Regions from separate parts of the Homo sapiens genome. Here regions 2, 3, 4, 5 and 6 are each linked to region 1. Evidence: promoter capture Hi-C in 16 types of primary human blood cells and fetal thymus (Javierre and others, 2016). All regions are on one chromosome and are shown on one strand. Each heading gives the region's core, a stretch centred on a gene start or on the middle of the fragment in contact. The rest is flanking DNA. Distances are from core to core; before and after follow the strand shown.

The links. Contacts are between HindIII fragments. The CHiCAGO score rates a contact against its expected background, and 5 or more counts as called.
Region 2: a fragment that was not itself captured here is called in contact with the fragment with the promoter of CPED1 in region 1 in 1 of 17 cell types (neutrophils); the score reaches 5.8 in neutrophils.
Region 3: a fragment that was not itself captured here is called in contact with the fragment with the promoter of CPED1 in region 1 in 1 of 17 cell types (naive CD8 T cells); the score reaches 5.3 in naive CD8 T cells.
Region 4: a fragment that was not itself captured here is called in contact with the fragment with the promoter of CPED1 in region 1 in 1 of 17 cell types (monocytes); the score reaches 5.2 in monocytes.
Region 5: a contact is called between a fragment that was not itself captured here and the fragment with the promoter of CPED1 in region 1, in 4 of 17 cell types (monocytes, megakaryocytes, naive CD4 T cells and 1 more). The highest score is 8.7, in monocytes.
Region 6: a contact is called between a fragment that was not itself captured here and the fragment with the promoter of CPED1 in region 1, in 5 of 17 cell types (monocytes, M0 macrophages, erythroblasts and 2 more). The highest score is 9.2, in monocytes.

What each region holds. Positions count from the first base shown.
Region 1 is chr7:120,987,377-120,990,076 of GRCh38, forward strand. CPED1 (cadherin like and PC-esterase domain containing 1) reads left to right here and starts at 1,335. Exons shown (of 23, transcript NM_024913.5): 1 at 1,335-1,536; 2 at 2,015-2,494. The coding sequence starts at 2,246. RefSeq lists an enhancer at 511-590. The HindIII fragment of the contact is 5,089 bases long and covers 1-2,508 here.
Region 2 is chr7:120,828,676-120,831,375 of GRCh38, forward strand. The region is part of intron 4 of TSPAN12 (tetraspanin 12); the gene reads right to left. Among named protein-coding and RNA genes, the nearest start is that of TSPAN12, 28 kb to the right of the region's middle. The HindIII fragment of the contact is 1,503 bases long and covers 638-2,140 here.
Region 3 is chr7:120,783,687-120,786,386 of GRCh38, forward strand. No RefSeq gene overlaps it. Among named protein-coding and RNA genes, the nearest start is that of TSPAN12, 73 kb to the right of the region's middle. The HindIII fragment of the contact is 267 bases long and covers 1,259-1,525 here.
Region 4 is chr7:121,194,235-121,196,934 of GRCh38, forward strand. The region is part of intron 16 of CPED1 (cadherin like and PC-esterase domain containing 1); the gene reads left to right. All of the region lies in intron 1 of LOC124901735 (a long non-coding RNA gene), which reads right to left. It also overlaps the pseudogene RNU6-517P. Among named protein-coding and RNA genes, the nearest start is that of WNT16, 130 kb to the right of the region's middle. The HindIII fragment of the contact is 552 bases long and covers 1,038-1,589 here.
Region 5 is chr7:120,809,969-120,812,668 of GRCh38, forward strand. TSPAN12 (tetraspanin 12) reads right to left here. Exons shown (of 8, transcript NM_012338.4): 6 at 495-602. Among named protein-coding and RNA genes, the nearest start is that of TSPAN12, 47 kb to the right of the region's middle. The HindIII fragment of the contact is 2,010 bases long and covers 424-2,433 here.
Region 6 is chr7:121,132,392-121,135,091 of GRCh38, forward strand. CPED1 (cadherin like and PC-esterase domain containing 1) reads left to right here. Exons shown (of 23, transcript NM_024913.5): 13 at 1,432-1,502. Among named protein-coding and RNA genes, the nearest start is that of CPED1, 150 kb to the left of the region's middle. The HindIII fragment of the contact is 2,339 bases long and covers 114-2,452 here.

The DNA.
Region 1 (2,700 bases), core at 85-2,584:
CTCAGTAACAGCATTGTCACACCCTGGATTCCAATTTAGAAATCTCACAATTCTTATTATCTCTCAAATCACATTGCATCCACCAAAACGATATGTCCTACAACACCACTGTTCAGCCATTTTCTCTTAAAACTCTTTTGGCTTCTAAAAGTGAAGCATCACTTTATTTTTCTCTATCCCATTTGTCATAAGATTAAGGACTCTGAACCTATACATAAAATAATATTAAAGCCACTGGAGGCGATACATGCAAGGGCTTGGGATAAATCCAGCTTCCGTGTGAATATTTCTTCTGTAATGTGTTAATTAATTTGTTCTATAGGATGTTAAAAGGGTTTCTTTCTCACAAGCAAGGAACTCTAGATGCCCATTTCTCTGAATCTGTGCTAGCTGGGCACCCCTAGGGGGCGCTCCGTCTCTCAAAATACAAGGGGCTGACAGCAGCGTGCCTCTGGGTGAGGCTCACTCTAGGGGTGTGGCCTCACGGAGAACCTCAACCCACAAGAGTTTGGCTTAGAAACAAGTTTGAAAACCTCTTCAGGTCCAGAGCCTTTAAATAATGCCTGCTATGCGCTAAGACAGCCCTGGGTATCCAGAGTTCACAAAGCAAGGACTGATTTCCTTTCGCCTTGACAGCCTCAGCAAAAGTGGAAGGGGGTTTGCAGAATTGCACTATTAGCAGCGTCCACCCGAAGGTCTGCACAGAATTAGACTGAGCTGATTCTGGACAAAGCCCACTGTGTACCTTTATCTACTGGGCAAAAGTTACCCCCAACACCTGCTATAATCGACTCATTTTAGGAGCAAAATGTCAGGCCATGAAGCATCAGATCATTGAAAGACCCAATTAATTAGTCCAGGAAAGGAGTAATAAGAACATCTGTGATCTGAGTTCCATACTAAGACACAGAGAGACGACTGAGTTATTCTGGTGCTTGCTGTCTGAGGTCCAGACAGTACTTGTGACCCTCTTATCCTCAGAAGAGTAACCACAATTCCCTGGAGTGAAGAATATCCCAATTCACTCATGGAGTTCACTTTAGTCTCATTCTCGACCTTTGTCACCAATTGGCTAAGGCTATTTGTTTTTCCAATTCTGTATTAGGAAAAAGAAGTTGCACAGAGGATCAGACATCAGATACGTTTCTAAATTCTGCAGCTCTGGGTGGGCAGCCTCATTTGGGGAAATGCTAGCTGCTGTTTCCAAAGTGGGGAAGCCCACGGTTTCGGACACAGGGCTGACAGCGCTGCTCCAGCAGCCCCCAGGGCCAGAGGAACCCGGCCTTAGCTCCGCCCCGCTCTGCCCGGCCCCGGGTGGCTGCGATGCCGAGGTCCTCTGCTCCCGCCGGGCGTGCAGCGGGCGCGCGCGCGTGTGTTTATGTGTCTGTGTGCGTGTGTGTGTGTGTCTCTCTCTGTGTGTGTGTGAGATGAATTGGAGTCATACGACTGGGTGTTTCCTTCCGAGTGGTTTTCATCAGCAATCCATTAGGAAATCATGGAAACTTTTTTTTTCCTGGCTAAAAGGATGAAAACTGAGTAAGTACATAGAACTTTGAACTTGAGACGGAATGAAACAAATTCAAGCAAAAACCCTGACAGTAACCATGTCCATTCAAATTGCGTATGCCCTTTTTATGTTAAAAGCCGTGAATACTTACAGGACAGTGGGAATTTAAAACTAAATGAAGGGAAGCATACAAAAGGCTGAAAGCAAGACTGCTTTAAAACCGGAGGAAAATTGAGGAACTGCTAAGGCAACCTGGCCTGAGTTCAGCTGTGCAACAGGCACTTTGGGTTTTAATCTTTTGCGTTCTTCAATGCTGTTTTCAGACTCCAGATATACTTTGGTATTGTTTTCTCTCTTCCTGCAAAGCTGAGGCAGAGTCGGACTCCTTTACTGTGAGTTGAAAGATGTGAGAATAAGGCATTGCTGGAAGCAACAGTTTGGCAGCCTGGGGTACACTCAGGTTATTCGTTACAACTATTATTATTTGATGTCTTTTTTTAAACTCAGGTCATCCACTTTTGACTGTCATCCATGGAAGAGCTCTTATTAAAAGCCTCAGACTTTCGGGACCTATGATTCTTTGGCACAACCTTTTGGAAAATTCTTAAGCAGGGATGAAGCAAACTTGATTGGAGTTGGGGAAAAAGAAGACAGATTAGTATTTTTCATGCTGACAAAAAATAGCTGCTATGACTTTTCCCGCAACGTGGACAGGGGCCAAGTGAAGCTGAACTGGTCATGGTCTGTCGCCCAGTGTTCCCTTGTCGTCGGCGATTTTGCCCCCGACCCTTCTTGGTGGGCTTAGTGGTGGCAATCTGTCTCTTCTACCAGACTCTGACCCTCCGAGGGTCGAGGAAGCTCACAGCCGCTGCCCCTGGGGCTGTCCCACACACATCCACTGAAACCCAGGCAAGCAGATGCAAGAAAGGATTCTCTCAGGACAAACAGTGCTTCCTTCTCTCTGGTAATGCCCAGGAAACCAGAAAGGTAAGACTCTCATAAGCTTAACGGAGACAGTTTCTGCAAAGACAGCAATCTGCTTCTCTGTCCTTTCTATAAAACTAAAATTAACTTCCATGAGGTCTGAAAGGGATCCAGAGTGTAAACAGCCTAGAGAGTGACCTGATGACTGGGAAACACGTTACATAAGCTTCAACTTCTTATAGTTACTTCCAGAAAGTTCTGGCATTACT
Region 2 (2,700 bases), core at 139-2,638, 160 kb before region 1:
TTACAGTACCTTTAAAAACACAAAGAGAGAACTTTCGGAATGAAAGTACTTTCATAATAAAAGGTAAAAAACCCTAATTGTCTCATTAGAAGTTCTCAGTCTGTGCTTCAACTCAACTGTGCAAGCCCTATACAGAATGTGAAACTGTAAAATATTTTAAATGCTTGTTTACTGGAAAAGACACAGCAATGATTCATATTCTACTTAATTAGAAATTATTTTTAAGTTGCTATCATTTAATAAAATTCTGTTATTTCATTAAATCTTTAGAATTGTATTCATATTCTTCTTAAAGATTATGTTTCTAAAATGTCATTATTTTAAGGAAATTTGTTGTTTCTAAAGTTTAAAGTTTTATAACTAAAATAACGGCTGTATAAAGAAAATTCAGGAATAACCACTTATTTTAGAATAATTCAAATGCGCTGCTTAACAGAAATACAAAGTGATACAACTACAGTGTTAAAACATTTTAAATACAATTTAAGTTATTGTTTCTGTCATCTAAGCTGAGAAAATTTATCTTAGCCTGAGCATGTAACCTGAGCCTATTACCTTTTCTCTGAAAAAAGGAAAAGACACATGGATTACAATTCTAAAAATGTGAGTTTTTAAAATTTATATAGTTTCAAGAAAAAGCTTTCTTTAATTCATAATCTTATTTAGCCAACAACTTCATTAGACATTGCACATAAAGCAAATACTAACCATGATTTTTTTTTTTTTCTAAATATTCCATCTAAAAGCTGCTTTCCTCACTGGCTTAAATGACTTAATTCTCTCAACTTTTACAAACGTTATCCGCCCTCTTGTTTTAACTCTCTTTACATTTAGGATACTGTTTCCTCAGTCATCTCCTTTTAAATGAATGTTTTCTGGTTTATGTTTGCCAAAGGAAGTTAGTAGAGAGACATGTGGAAGTAAATGAGAAAGTGAAAACACAGCACAATTGCTGAACTCTCCTCAAGGAAGCATTCGCTGAATTGGTGACCAGTATTCACAGGTGGAATGAACATTTCAATAGCATGTGCTGCCAGAAAAATACCTGACTTTGAACTTTGCACAAACTCAGGACAGTCACCAAATCAATGGATATGGAAATATTTGGCTTATATTTAACTAAAATTATCTCAAATGTATATATCTAAAAACAATCTATAATAAGGTTTAAAATGCTTACGGTGACATAGTACACCATACAAAAACTTGAATCATTCATATTTCAAACCCTGAAGAAAGACAAAGTTCCAATGAACAGCCAAAATCCTCTCATAAAGACCCAACACTAAGGCCATGAATATCACACAGTTTTCCTGGCCCCTGTCTCTGACACAACATTTACTTTTGAAGACATCTGCTGACATACTTTCATGGGGCATCAGAAGCCATAAAATACTTACAAGTAAATTTAACTGAGGAGTTAAAAGATCGATATGCTGAAAATTATAAAATACTGATGAAAGAAATTGAAGATGACACAAACAAATAGAAAGATATCCCATGTTTATGGATTAGAAGAATTAATATTGTTAAAATGTCCATACTATCCAAAGTGACCTACAAATTCAATGCAATCCCAATCAAAACTCCAATGTCATTTTTTTACAGAAACAGGAAAAAAAATCCTAAAATTCCTATGGTACTACAAATTCCCCAAATAGCCAAAGTAACCCTGAGCAAAAACAACAAAGCTGCAGGTATCACACTACCTGATTTCAAAATATATTATAAAGTTATAGTAATCAAAACAGCATGGTAGTAGCCTAAAAACAGATATCAACCAATGGAAAAGGACAAAAAGCCCAGAAAGAAGTAAACTGACACATTTACAGCCAATTGATTTTTTGACAAAGATGCCAATAACACACAATGGGAAATGGAAAGTATCTTCAATAAAGGGGAACAACTGGATATCCATATGCAGAAGAATAAAATTACTCTTATTTCACAGCATAAGCAAAAAAACAACAAAAATGTTTTAAAGATTTAAATGTAAGACCTGAAACTGTAAAACTAGTAGAAGACAATGCATGAGAAGAACTCCAGGACACCGATCTGAGCAATGATTTTTTAATATGACCCCAAAGTCACAGACAGAAAAAAAGCAGAAATAGACACATGAGAAAATATTAAACTACCAAGCTTCTGCATAGCAAAAGAAACAATTAGAAGAGTGAAACCCATTGATTAGGAGAAAATATTTGCAAACCATGTATCTGTTAAGGGACTAATATCCAAAACATAAAATGGACTCAAACAACTCAATAGCAAGAAAGTAAATAACCCAATTAAAAAATAAGCAAAGGACCTGAACAGACATTTCTTAAAAGATGACATGCAAATACCCAACAGAAGACAAAGAGATGAAAAAAAATGCTCAACATCACTGTTAGGAAAACACAAATTCAAACCACAATGAAATATCAACTTGTAGCTCTTAGAATGTTTACTATCAAAAAGACAAAAGATAACAAATGTTGGCAAGGCTGTGGGGGAAAAAAATCCTGGTACACTGTTTGAGTAAATATAAATTAGTACAGCCATTATGGAGAGCAGTATGGAGGTTTTCAAAAAATTATAAATTGAATTACCATATGATCCAGCAATCTCACTTCTGAGTGTACATCCAAACGAAATGAATAGGAATGCCACAGAGATATCTGTATTCTCATGTTCATTCCAGCATTATTCACAATAGTC
Region 3 (2,700 bases), core at 142-2,641, 200 kb before region 1:
CCAAAATTTTGAATTGAGCTATTGCTTCCTTGTAGTCCTCATGGTAGCCAGGCAAGGCCTAGGGTGGCCAGTGGCCCCTGAGCTTCACGTATCCTAGCGTGTCTTATAAATAACATATACATGAATGAGTTGGGAAGCTCTGCCTTTCTTACAACAAGGAACCTCTGGAAGTGTTCGAGTAAGGAAGCAGCAAGATAAGAATAAAGTTTCACAAGAATTAATCTGAGTGATAGTTAACAGATCAGTGTTGCCTGGGGCTAGGAGAGGGGAATGCAGGATTTATCACAGATGGGCAAGAGGAAACTTTTTGACACGATGAAAATGTTCTAGATCTCGATTGTTGTTGTGGTTACATGAGTATATATAGTTGCCAAAACTAATTAACTATATACTTGAAAGGGGTATATTTATTAGGGGTGTGTGTGTGTGTATGTGTGTGTGTATATATATATAGTATGTTTTTATATATATATGTATATAAAATCTCAATAAAGTTGATTAAAGAACTTAATTTGGGCTGGGCATGGTGACTCATGCCTGTAATCCCAGCACTTCGGGAGGCTGAGGTGGGCGGATCATGAGGTCAGGAGTTCAAGGCCAGCCTGGTCAACATAGTGAAACCCCATCTCTACTAAAAATACAAAATATTAGCCAGGCGTGGTGATGCACAGCTGTAATCCCAGACATTTGGGAGGCTGAGGCAGGAGAATCGCTTGAACCTGGGAGGCAGGGGTTGCAGTGAGCCGAGGTTGCACCACTGACTTCAGCCTGGGTGACAGTGTGAGACTCTGTCTCAAAAAAAACAGAACTTAATTTGCCTGTGTGTGTATGTGTGTGTACAAGATATTTTAGATAATTTATACTTGTTCTTGGGAAATAATAGTAGGAATGAGGTTAGACAAGAGCATCATTTTGATTTGGCCTGGTGATATTGATTTACATGTAGGAGAATTTGGCTTTTCTAGGTAAAGAATCATCTGAGCTTCACCACAGGCTGGTGAAGATACCATGCCACAAAATGGGGAAAGTGGAAGTATAGCTCTGCCACATATTAGCTAAGTAAATGTATTCAGTCTCTTGGAGTCCCTCTTGTTCATTTGTAAAATAAAGTGGGGTGCCTGCAAATTGCAAATGAGTTGTGAAGAACAGAGAAAATAAGTGTAAAGCACCTCCTACATGTGCCTGGTACCTAGTACGCACCCCTGAAAGTATGAGGTAAAGAGTGATTGCAATTAACACATAAAAATAGAAAAAGAAAAGCTTTCAAGATCAAGATGATACCAAAGATTCTCCTATATATGTTTCTAGGATGTGAGGAAATGAGAACTCAGTTCACAGGGGAGACGAATCTGCTTGTAAATCTCAGGATGACAATAGGAAGGGGGTTGGGTGAAGCAACATAGCAGTTGGCAGTGTTTTAAAAAAGGGGCAGCTTCTTTGCCAGAGAAGATTCAGTAGTATAGTGATTTCTTCTTTCTTTACCTCCCTTGACTCATCCACAGGAGAGGGAATTCAGACAAAAGGAAGCTTCTGTGGCAATCTATTTAAGATTCTCCTCATATAAGATTTGGTTCCCAGCCCATTTTCTGTCAGGCTTCCTGAGATGGGAAAGCAATGCATAAAAATTCTCAGGCTTGACAGTGAATTCTCCTGAGCTCCAGACTGAAATTTACAGCTGCCTGTAGACATCTCCATCTGCATGTCCTGCAGGCATCTCCAACTCTGTGTCTCAGACCAAATTAATTACCCTCTCATACTCGTTCCCCTCCAGTCTTCCATCTAGGTTAATGCCATTGCCAATTTGCCAGGCACAAAATCCAGAAATTTCAGTACTTTTACTTCTTGTCCCACACTCCCTGAGGTCTAGCTACTGCCAATTTTTGTGGATTCACCCTGTTGTGATCTGTTTTATGCACTCTGTTTTTTGACTTCCATTGTCCTGGTGAGGATCCTTATCCCTCTCCAGGACCACAACAACAGCAATCTATTCAGTCTCCTGCCAGGGCCTGCAGTGTGTACAACTCTCAAGTGCTCCACTTACCTAGGCTGTGGTCAATGGTGGCCCACCCACCCAGGAGTTGCAAAATAAGTATAACTGTCTCCTGGTCCCCTCTTTCTCACTTGGCTAATCCAGTTAAATTAATGAAATATTCATCATTTCTCTTTCTGAAATTGCTTCGGTGACTTTACTTTGGGCCTACAGAACAAAGCACCCAAACTCAAATTTCATTCATTTCCTGTCCCATGGCATCTCTTCAATCATTCTATGATCTAACCACATTGAACCATAAGTCATAACTCCAAAATAATGTATACTTTTTAACCTCAAACTCATGGCTCATGGAATATTTTCCATGAGCCAGCTAGACTCCACTGCTCCTTCTGATCCAGCTTGAACGCCATCTCCTTGGCATAGCTGCCTTAATTCCACTCTACTCCATCTCTTATTCTTAAGAAGGGCCCCACTCACTGCATATTCCCTTATTTATTTTTCCTGTGGTTAGCACAAGTGTCTCTAACCCAGATTCTACAGTGTTTAAGGACAGACATCATCTCTTGTTGCCATCTCTGAGTCTCCAGGGCACTTTGAATGGACTTTTAACCAGTCTAAAAATAATCTTCTTAAATTTCTACTTTTAAAAAATGGTGATTTTTTTTTTTAACCAAAGAAAGCTTTTAAAAATTCCCAAAGAAACAGTT
Region 4 (2,700 bases), core at 64-2,563, 210 kb after region 1:
GAGACAGGGTTTCACCCTGTTGGCCAGGCTGGTCTTGAACTCCTGACCTCAGGTGATCCACCTGCCTTGGCCTCCCAAAGTGCTGGGATTACTAGCACAAGCCACTGTACCCGGCCTATAATATATTTTGAAATGATAGCAGTAAAAACTGTTCATGGCACTACCTGGATAATGCTGATTAAATATAATTTAATTAAAATGGACTGAAGTATAGATTTATTTTACCATTTTTTTCAGGTGATTGAAGCAGAGCATATATGATCTCCACATATCAAGACTAACGGATGATTATTTCATTTACCAGCTGTATGGTTTGGGGTTTTGGTTTTTCTGTTAAATCTGTCAAGCTTTAAAGCTCAGTATGTGTCATTGCTTATTTAAAAATGTAATATGATGTGAAGGATAGAAATGAATTCAAATGTGTGTATTGGGACTTTCTAATGTCTCGTAAAATAAGTTTTTAATTTTTATAAATTCATTAGAACTAAAATGATCTGTTTTTAAAAACATCCCTTTCTCTCATTAGTTGTTTGTTTTTTGTTTTTCTGTTTTGAGATGTGGGCTCACTCCATTGCCCAGGATGGAGTGCAGTGGTGCTTTCACCATTCACTGCAGCCTCGGCCTTCAGGGCTCAGGTGATCCTCTTGCCTCAGCCTCCTGAGAAGCTGGGACTACAGGCTTGTTCCACCATGCCAGGCTAAATTTTCTGTTTTAAAAATATGGAACGCTTCGTGAATTTGTTGCATGTCATCCTTACACAGGGGCCATGTTAATCTTCTCTGTATCATTCCAATTTTAGTATATGTGTTGGTGAAGTGAGCACCATTAGTTTTCAATATTATGATTTTCTTGCTTAGTATACTACAGTGTATAAAGTACCATACTAAAGTCTCCTGTTTTATTTGTCCATTAATTCTTTCAAAATAGGAGATACAAATAGAAACATGTAAGACCCCAGACTTTTAATAGACATGATGATGAAATATCTACACAGGTATCTGTAATACTAACCCAGGAAATCTTTGTGTAGAGTTAAAAGCTTGATTTTGAAGAAACATAAGATAGTTTTAAAATATTTTTGCTTTATTCTTTCCATAGTTTAATTACTATCATTTTAAATCACCTTTCATTATATGAAAACCCATATTGAAACAAAGAACTGCTCATTTTCTAGTGTTTACAGATACATCACATAATGTTGATAACTCCAGCAAAAATTTAATTTTAGAAATCTGATCATTTTAAGTCAAAGGAGAAGTACATCTAACACAGTTATGCTAGGTTGAGAATATGAAGTACTGCTTTAAATGTTTGCTCTGGAACCAAATGTAGAAAAGTTTAGATAAGTCATGGACCAATCATTACTAAATTCACCTCAAGGATATTTTCACTCTTCTCTACTTGGTAATAACCACTAAGGGAATAGGGAAATTTACACACATATCTAAGAAATATGAAGGACTTCCAGACAGTTATGCATTTTGAAGAAAACATTTATCTTCAGTGTAAAAACATTCAATAGTTAATTTTTCTTTCAAAAACACAACTTGCTGCTTATTACCGGTATCTTGACTTCTAACAAAACCTCAAGCTTGGTTGGTGTTTGGTGTGAATGTGTGTTCCTATGAGTGTGCTGTAAATTGGCCTTGGAGAAATAGGGGTTTTCTTGAATCCAGGAAGCCTTGCTGTGTTGTTTGGCTGTTAGTTGGTGCCTTGACTATAACACATAAAGGGACTATGTGGCTTAGGTTGCCGCTTTCCTAGAAGGCCGGGGGGAGATGGTGTTTAGTGGGTCTGCTGCTTGAGGAGGCCAAAGAAAACCTTGTTGTAAGTAGCGCCTCAGGGTGGAATACATTCTTTGCCAAGCATGTCATTCAGTTTTCAGAAATAATTTAGCTGCTTTGGGATGTGGAGAGCAGGAAGGAATTTTGCTATTGGCTGCTGGAATAGTCCTGGTGAATAAAATGGTGGGGAGAAGATTGCTGAGAACAATCTGCTGCTGGGAGCTGGGGGGAATTGAAACTTCAGTCTGCTCAGTTGGCACTAGCTGTATGCAGTCTGTTGTGGGCCCTATGAGAAAGCTACCTGCAGGCTGCTACTCAGTAAGCAAACAGCCTCCATTGTACCTTCTGACTGCTTGCAACTGTCAGGCAAATGCTTAATCAGCAGCTTTTGAAAAAGAGCATGATTAATAAACCCATAAAACTCTCTTCTCTGATTAAAGCAGCAACTGTGTGGCAAAATCTATTAGAGCTTAGTTAGAGACCATTATAGTAGAGAAAATAAATTATTAAAGGGCAGATTTGTAGGCACTCTAGGAAAACAGATTTGGCTGGACTTAGTCCTGTCTCCCAGCTGTGAGAATTAAATAGGAGTCTGGGGACATGTAAAATTTAGTGCAGGACATACTTATAAGACAGCAGGGAAAATGCTATGACTGAAAGGCAGCAGCTCTCTTATAAATGCACATTGATTTTCAAAGGCTGAAGAGTGTTTCTTCAGTTCCCCGTGCTACCGTACGCTGACAGAGAATAGATGAGACCGAATTTTAGATCACACTAAAGTTTCTTTTTTTTTTTCAGCTTTATTTTTAAACCTTTTCCCACAAGTCTAGCTCATTAGAGCAAGAGAACTTTAATGAAATAATGGGCACAAAGTCAATCTGGAAAGTTAAAAAACACCATTTGGTTGCCATTACTG
Region 5 (2,700 bases), core at 179-2,678, 180 kb before region 1:
ATAGAAGCTCACTTAATAGCAAGCAGCACAGCTATGATTTTAACCAAGGTCTTTCTGAACAGATCATGCCATTAATGATATACTGACTTCAAAGTCCCAAATGAGAACAATCATTTTTTTTAAAACTAAAATTATGTTTAAAATATTGAGAGCTCTAAAAGTCATGAAAAAATCTATTTGTCTGGAACTTGGATATTTATCAAGTTAACTCTCATAAAAAGAAAACTTCACAATAATTTAGCAAAATGGCTTTTCAGATGTTCTTAAATATATGTGAACCATGTGAAATAAAGGGGAAATGGTATACATGGGAAGAAAAGCAGGCCATGAAGTTACCTAAGATATTTTTCAAGAAATAATTGCACCAGAGGTTACTGAATCACAGGCTTAATTTTTCAGCACAGAGGAAATTACCAAAGCTAAAGCTTTAAACATCTGGTTTGAAGGTGCACCACTTACTTCACTCTCTCTACCTCAGAAATTGTAGCACTTACCTCTCTCTGAAAAAAATTCCAAGCATGAGTAAGCCACCGATATCTAGGTAATCCATAATTTGTCATCCTGGCTTTCAAAGTGACCATATCTGACCATTGTACTGGAACCTGGTGATAAAAAGCAAAATATCAACAGCTGTAGCTCACACACAGACACAGATTCACACACACACACACACACACACACACACACGTACACACGCATACTCGGAATGTCTTCTAATTGACAAATACTATTTTAAATTTATATTTGCTCATGGCCTAAATTTAGCTCAGAGTATTCAATGTAGTTATTGGACAATCTCAATGTATAGATTTTTGTGATAAATGAAGAGGTATTTTGTACTAAGGAAAAAAATGAGAAATCACTTTAATGCTCAAGGAAATCACCAACAAGTAATTAACTGTACATCCCACAGACATACTGAAGACTTTCACATAACAAATAACCTCTGCAGAGAAATGTCCTTCATTTGATTTCAAAATGCTATGAAGTTGTTGCTCTTTGAAGCAACTGCAGATAATAGTACTAAAACAAAGAGGAAAGAATTAAGAAGGGAAAGAATTTGGCTCAACTCAAGCCTCACTCTGGGATAATTTTATCAACACTTTTTCAAAAGTTGTAATTAAGAGGTATGTTAGAATTTTAGAAAGAACAGTTCTCCACTTTTACACTGTTGGTGGGAATGTAAACTAGCACAACCACTATGGAAAACAGTGTGGAGATTCCTTAAAGAACTAAAAGTGGATCTACCATTTGATCCAGCAATCCCACTACTAGTTATCTACCCAGAGGAAAAGAAGTCATTATATGAAAAAGATACTTGCACACTCATGTTTATAGCAGCACATTTCGCAATTGTAAAAATGTGGAACCAGCCCAAGCCCATCAATCAATGAGTGGATAAAGAAAATGTATATATCAGCTGGGCATGGTGGCTCACACCTGTAATCCCAGCACTTTGGGAGGCCAAGACGGGCGGATCACGAGGTCAGGAGATCGAGACCATCCTGGCTAACACAGTGAAACCCCGTCTCTACTAAAAATACAAAAAAAAATTAGCCGGTGTAGTGGCGGGTGCCTGTAGTCCCAGCTACTTGGGAGGCTGAGGCAGGAGAATGGTGTGAACCCGGAGGGCGAAGGTTGCAGTGAGCCGAGATCACGCCACTGCACTCCAGCCTGGGTGACAGAGCGAGACTCGGTCTCAAAAAAAAAAAAAAGAAAAGAAAATATATATACCATGGAATACTATTCAGCCATAAAAAGGAAAAAATAATGGCATTCACAGCAACCTGGATGGAATTGCAGACCAATATTCTAAGTGAAGTAACTCAGGAATGGAAAACTAAGCATCGTATTTTCTCACTCGTATGTGGGAGCTAAGCTATAAGACACAAAGCCATAAGAATAATACAATGGACTTTGGGGACTCGGGAGGAAGGATGGGAGGGGGACGAGGGATAAAAGACTACACATTGGGTACAGTGTACACTGCTCAGGTGATGGATGCACGAAAATCTCAGAAATCACCACTAAAGAACTTATTAATGTAATCAACTACCACCTGTTCCCCAAAAACCTATTGAAATAAAAAAATTAAAAATAATTTAAAAAGAAAGAACAGTTTTTAAAGTAAAGCATTTTTGTGCTTCTATTCTCCAATCACCTAGCACCATGTCTATTACAGAGTATTTAATCATGACAGAGCTTTAGGTATACAGTACCACAGTCATTGTTGTAATACAATACAATACAACAGTCATTACTGGCCAGAAATCTGGTCAGTATATCAAGCTATGATTTTACTGCAGGGCCATGAGAAATTGAGGTATACAAATGCAAATCTCATTACACACACAGTATTAAGGCAACTCTGGGAAACTGGATGGACATTCCCATCTGATCTATGAAGTAATATAGACTGGGCTTAGTAAAGCAAGCTTGACATTCAACAAATAACACAAAGATAGAGAACCAAAAAGGAAAAAAGGGAGACATGAGCAAATAAGGCTCCAACAGAACTAGAGATTAGGATTATTATGAAATCTTATTTTTTAAGATAGTCATATCGATAGAAGCAGTTTCAAAATTCCTGACCACAGAAAATCTTCGTTTTTTTCTTTGTTAACTTTTTTTTTGATTACTTGGAAATACACAATAAAACATCCAAACACTTGGGCACACATTTTTTTCCCCCAAATAATG
Region 6 (2,700 bases), core at 33-2,532, 140 kb after region 1:
TTTCTATAGAAAATGTCAACTTTATGGATGTACATTACCTGTGTTCAATGACTTCATCTTTCCTTTTAAGGAAAGATCATTGTCTTGTAGCAACGAGGTGAGAAAGTCAGGAAAGCTTGACAATACCAGGTAATAGTTATATGTTTGTCCTGAGGCTCAAAATCCAGAGATCTCAACAGAATTAGTGTGAATCTGAACAGAATGAAAATCTTAAAATCAATGTGGTGCACCATGTGCTAATTTTACCTTCCTAGAAGTACAGTTGCATTGTACATTACTCTAAGGAAATGCTTTCAATGAAAATCCACATGGATTTGAAACAATGTATTCACAAAATTATGCAGAAAATCACTGCAAGATGCCTTTACATACAGTGTCTCATTCCATTAAGATAGTAACCTTTCCAAACTTCAGTTTCTGTGCATTTCAGGGTTGTGTCTTTTGTAAAAGTCACCTGGAATAAACAGTTTTTAAAATAAAACTGCAAAAAATTATCATGGCTTCCAACTTTAGCAATAATTTTAATTCCTTGATGCTTTTAAATTTCCTAGCTGATGTTTATATTTGGAGCTGAATATGTCATATTCATCTCTTCTCCATTACAGTACGCAGCACAATATCTGGGACAATACATATTTCTAAAATGTTATTTAACAAAGAAAATTGTATTTAACTCTCATAGCATCCCTGTGAAGTAAGGTAAACATTGTTATCTCCATTGTGCTGGGGTGGAAATGGAGATTTGCACCAGCACAGGAAAGTCTTGTCAGGGGCCTGCAGATGATCCTGCCTGCTGTTCTTTATCATCAGGACCAGCAATTTTTCTGTCTGCAATTTAAATTATTTTGGTCCCAAATTTGAGGATTTAAAGGGCAATCTGGCCAAGTATTTAGTTAGTTATACAACAGAGAAAATTAGGTGAACACACCAGAATTTAACTAACCCTTGCTATTCACTACTGTTAATTAGAGTTTAAGGGTAGAAGACTTGGCAAGACATAGGTCATTTTCTGCATGGTATACTTATTTCTTCAATTAAATGTATGTTCTTCTCAGGCTGTGCCTTGGTGATTCCAAGATTTTTTGCTCCAAAACAGTGTAACTATAGCCAAACAGATTTCCAATAAGAATGTGTATTCTTGAATCACTTCTATTGGACCCAAGCTATCTGAGATTCCTCAGATTTGGACTGAGAGGGACTTTTTACCCTGGTTTTCTTCAAATATGCTTCTACTGATTAGGGATGATGAGATTTCCACCTACTTCCTTTGAGGGTAGATTGCCAGTTTTGAGGATTGAAATGCAGAAAGCGTTTTTTTGTGTTCATCAAAGTAACTGTGCCCATACAGAAGAAAAGATAGTGTGTTAGATGTAATTTCCACGCGTTTTGTTCATTTCATTAATCCAGAGTTGTTTGGCATTGCATTTGCAGGAATTCTTTCACAGAAGATAAGAACATTGAAAAACCACAAGTGCCATTTGATGCAATAGAAAATAAAAAAGGTAAAAATATAGATATTCCCACTTATTTCAACATAAAAATAAGTATTTCCTGGCAAAAAAATGCAAAACTATTTAGCTTCATTAGCAATCAAAAATGAAAATTAAATGAGGAAATGCTATTTTCCCTTAAATTTGGAAAGGATTTTCTTAAAATTATAGAGAGGGAATCCAGCAATCCTGCTACTGGATATCTATCCAAAGGAAATGAACTCCGTATGTTGAAGAGATATTTGTACTCTGATGTTAACTACAGCACTACACGCAATAGCCAAGATATAGAATCAAACTAAGTGTTCATCAGTGAATGGATAAAGAAAATGGGGGTGTATGTACACAATGGAATACTATTCAGCCACAAAAGAGAAAGAAATCCTGTTGTTTGTTATTTGTGACATAGATAGTCCTGGAGAATGTTAAGTGAAATAAGCCAGACACAAAAAGATAAAAACCCCATAATCTCACTCATGTGGGATCGAAAAAAGTTGATCTCACAGAAGTAGAGAGGGTTTACCAGTTTTATGCTCTCATAGAGAGTAGAATAGTAGTTATTAGAGGCCAGGGAGGGTAGGAAGGGAAGGAGGTGGCTAGAGATTGGTTATAGTTAGGTAGAAGAAAAAGTTCTGTTGTTCTATTAAAAAGTGGGATGACTATTGTTAACCAATATATATGTTTAAATAGCTGGAAGAGAGGATTTTGAATGATCTCATCACAAAGAAATGTTAAATGTTTGAAGTGATAGGTATGCTAATTAGCCACATTTATTCATTACACAATGTATACATGTATCAAAATATTTCACATTATACCCCAGAATTATGTGTCAATTAAAATAAAACTTTAAAAAAGATAGTAAAGTTGGAGAGAGTGTATGGAAATCAGTATTCTCATAGTGCTGGTGGACGTATAAATTAGAACAACCTCTATTAAGGGGCCATTTAAAATCTAAGAAAAGCTTTAAAAGTTATTTTTATAGATCAGAAATTTTACTTCTAAATGTTCATTTTAAGGAAATAATATATACAAAATTTAATTACATAAATTATCAACAAATTAAAAAAATAGAGTTCATTACTATTGCAATAAGAGTGGACTGGACACACAAATTAAGCTAGAGTCATCAAATAAAATGTTATAAATCCATTCTTCTGTTGTGAAAGAATATTTATGACATGAAAATTCTTTATGATCTATTGTTAAA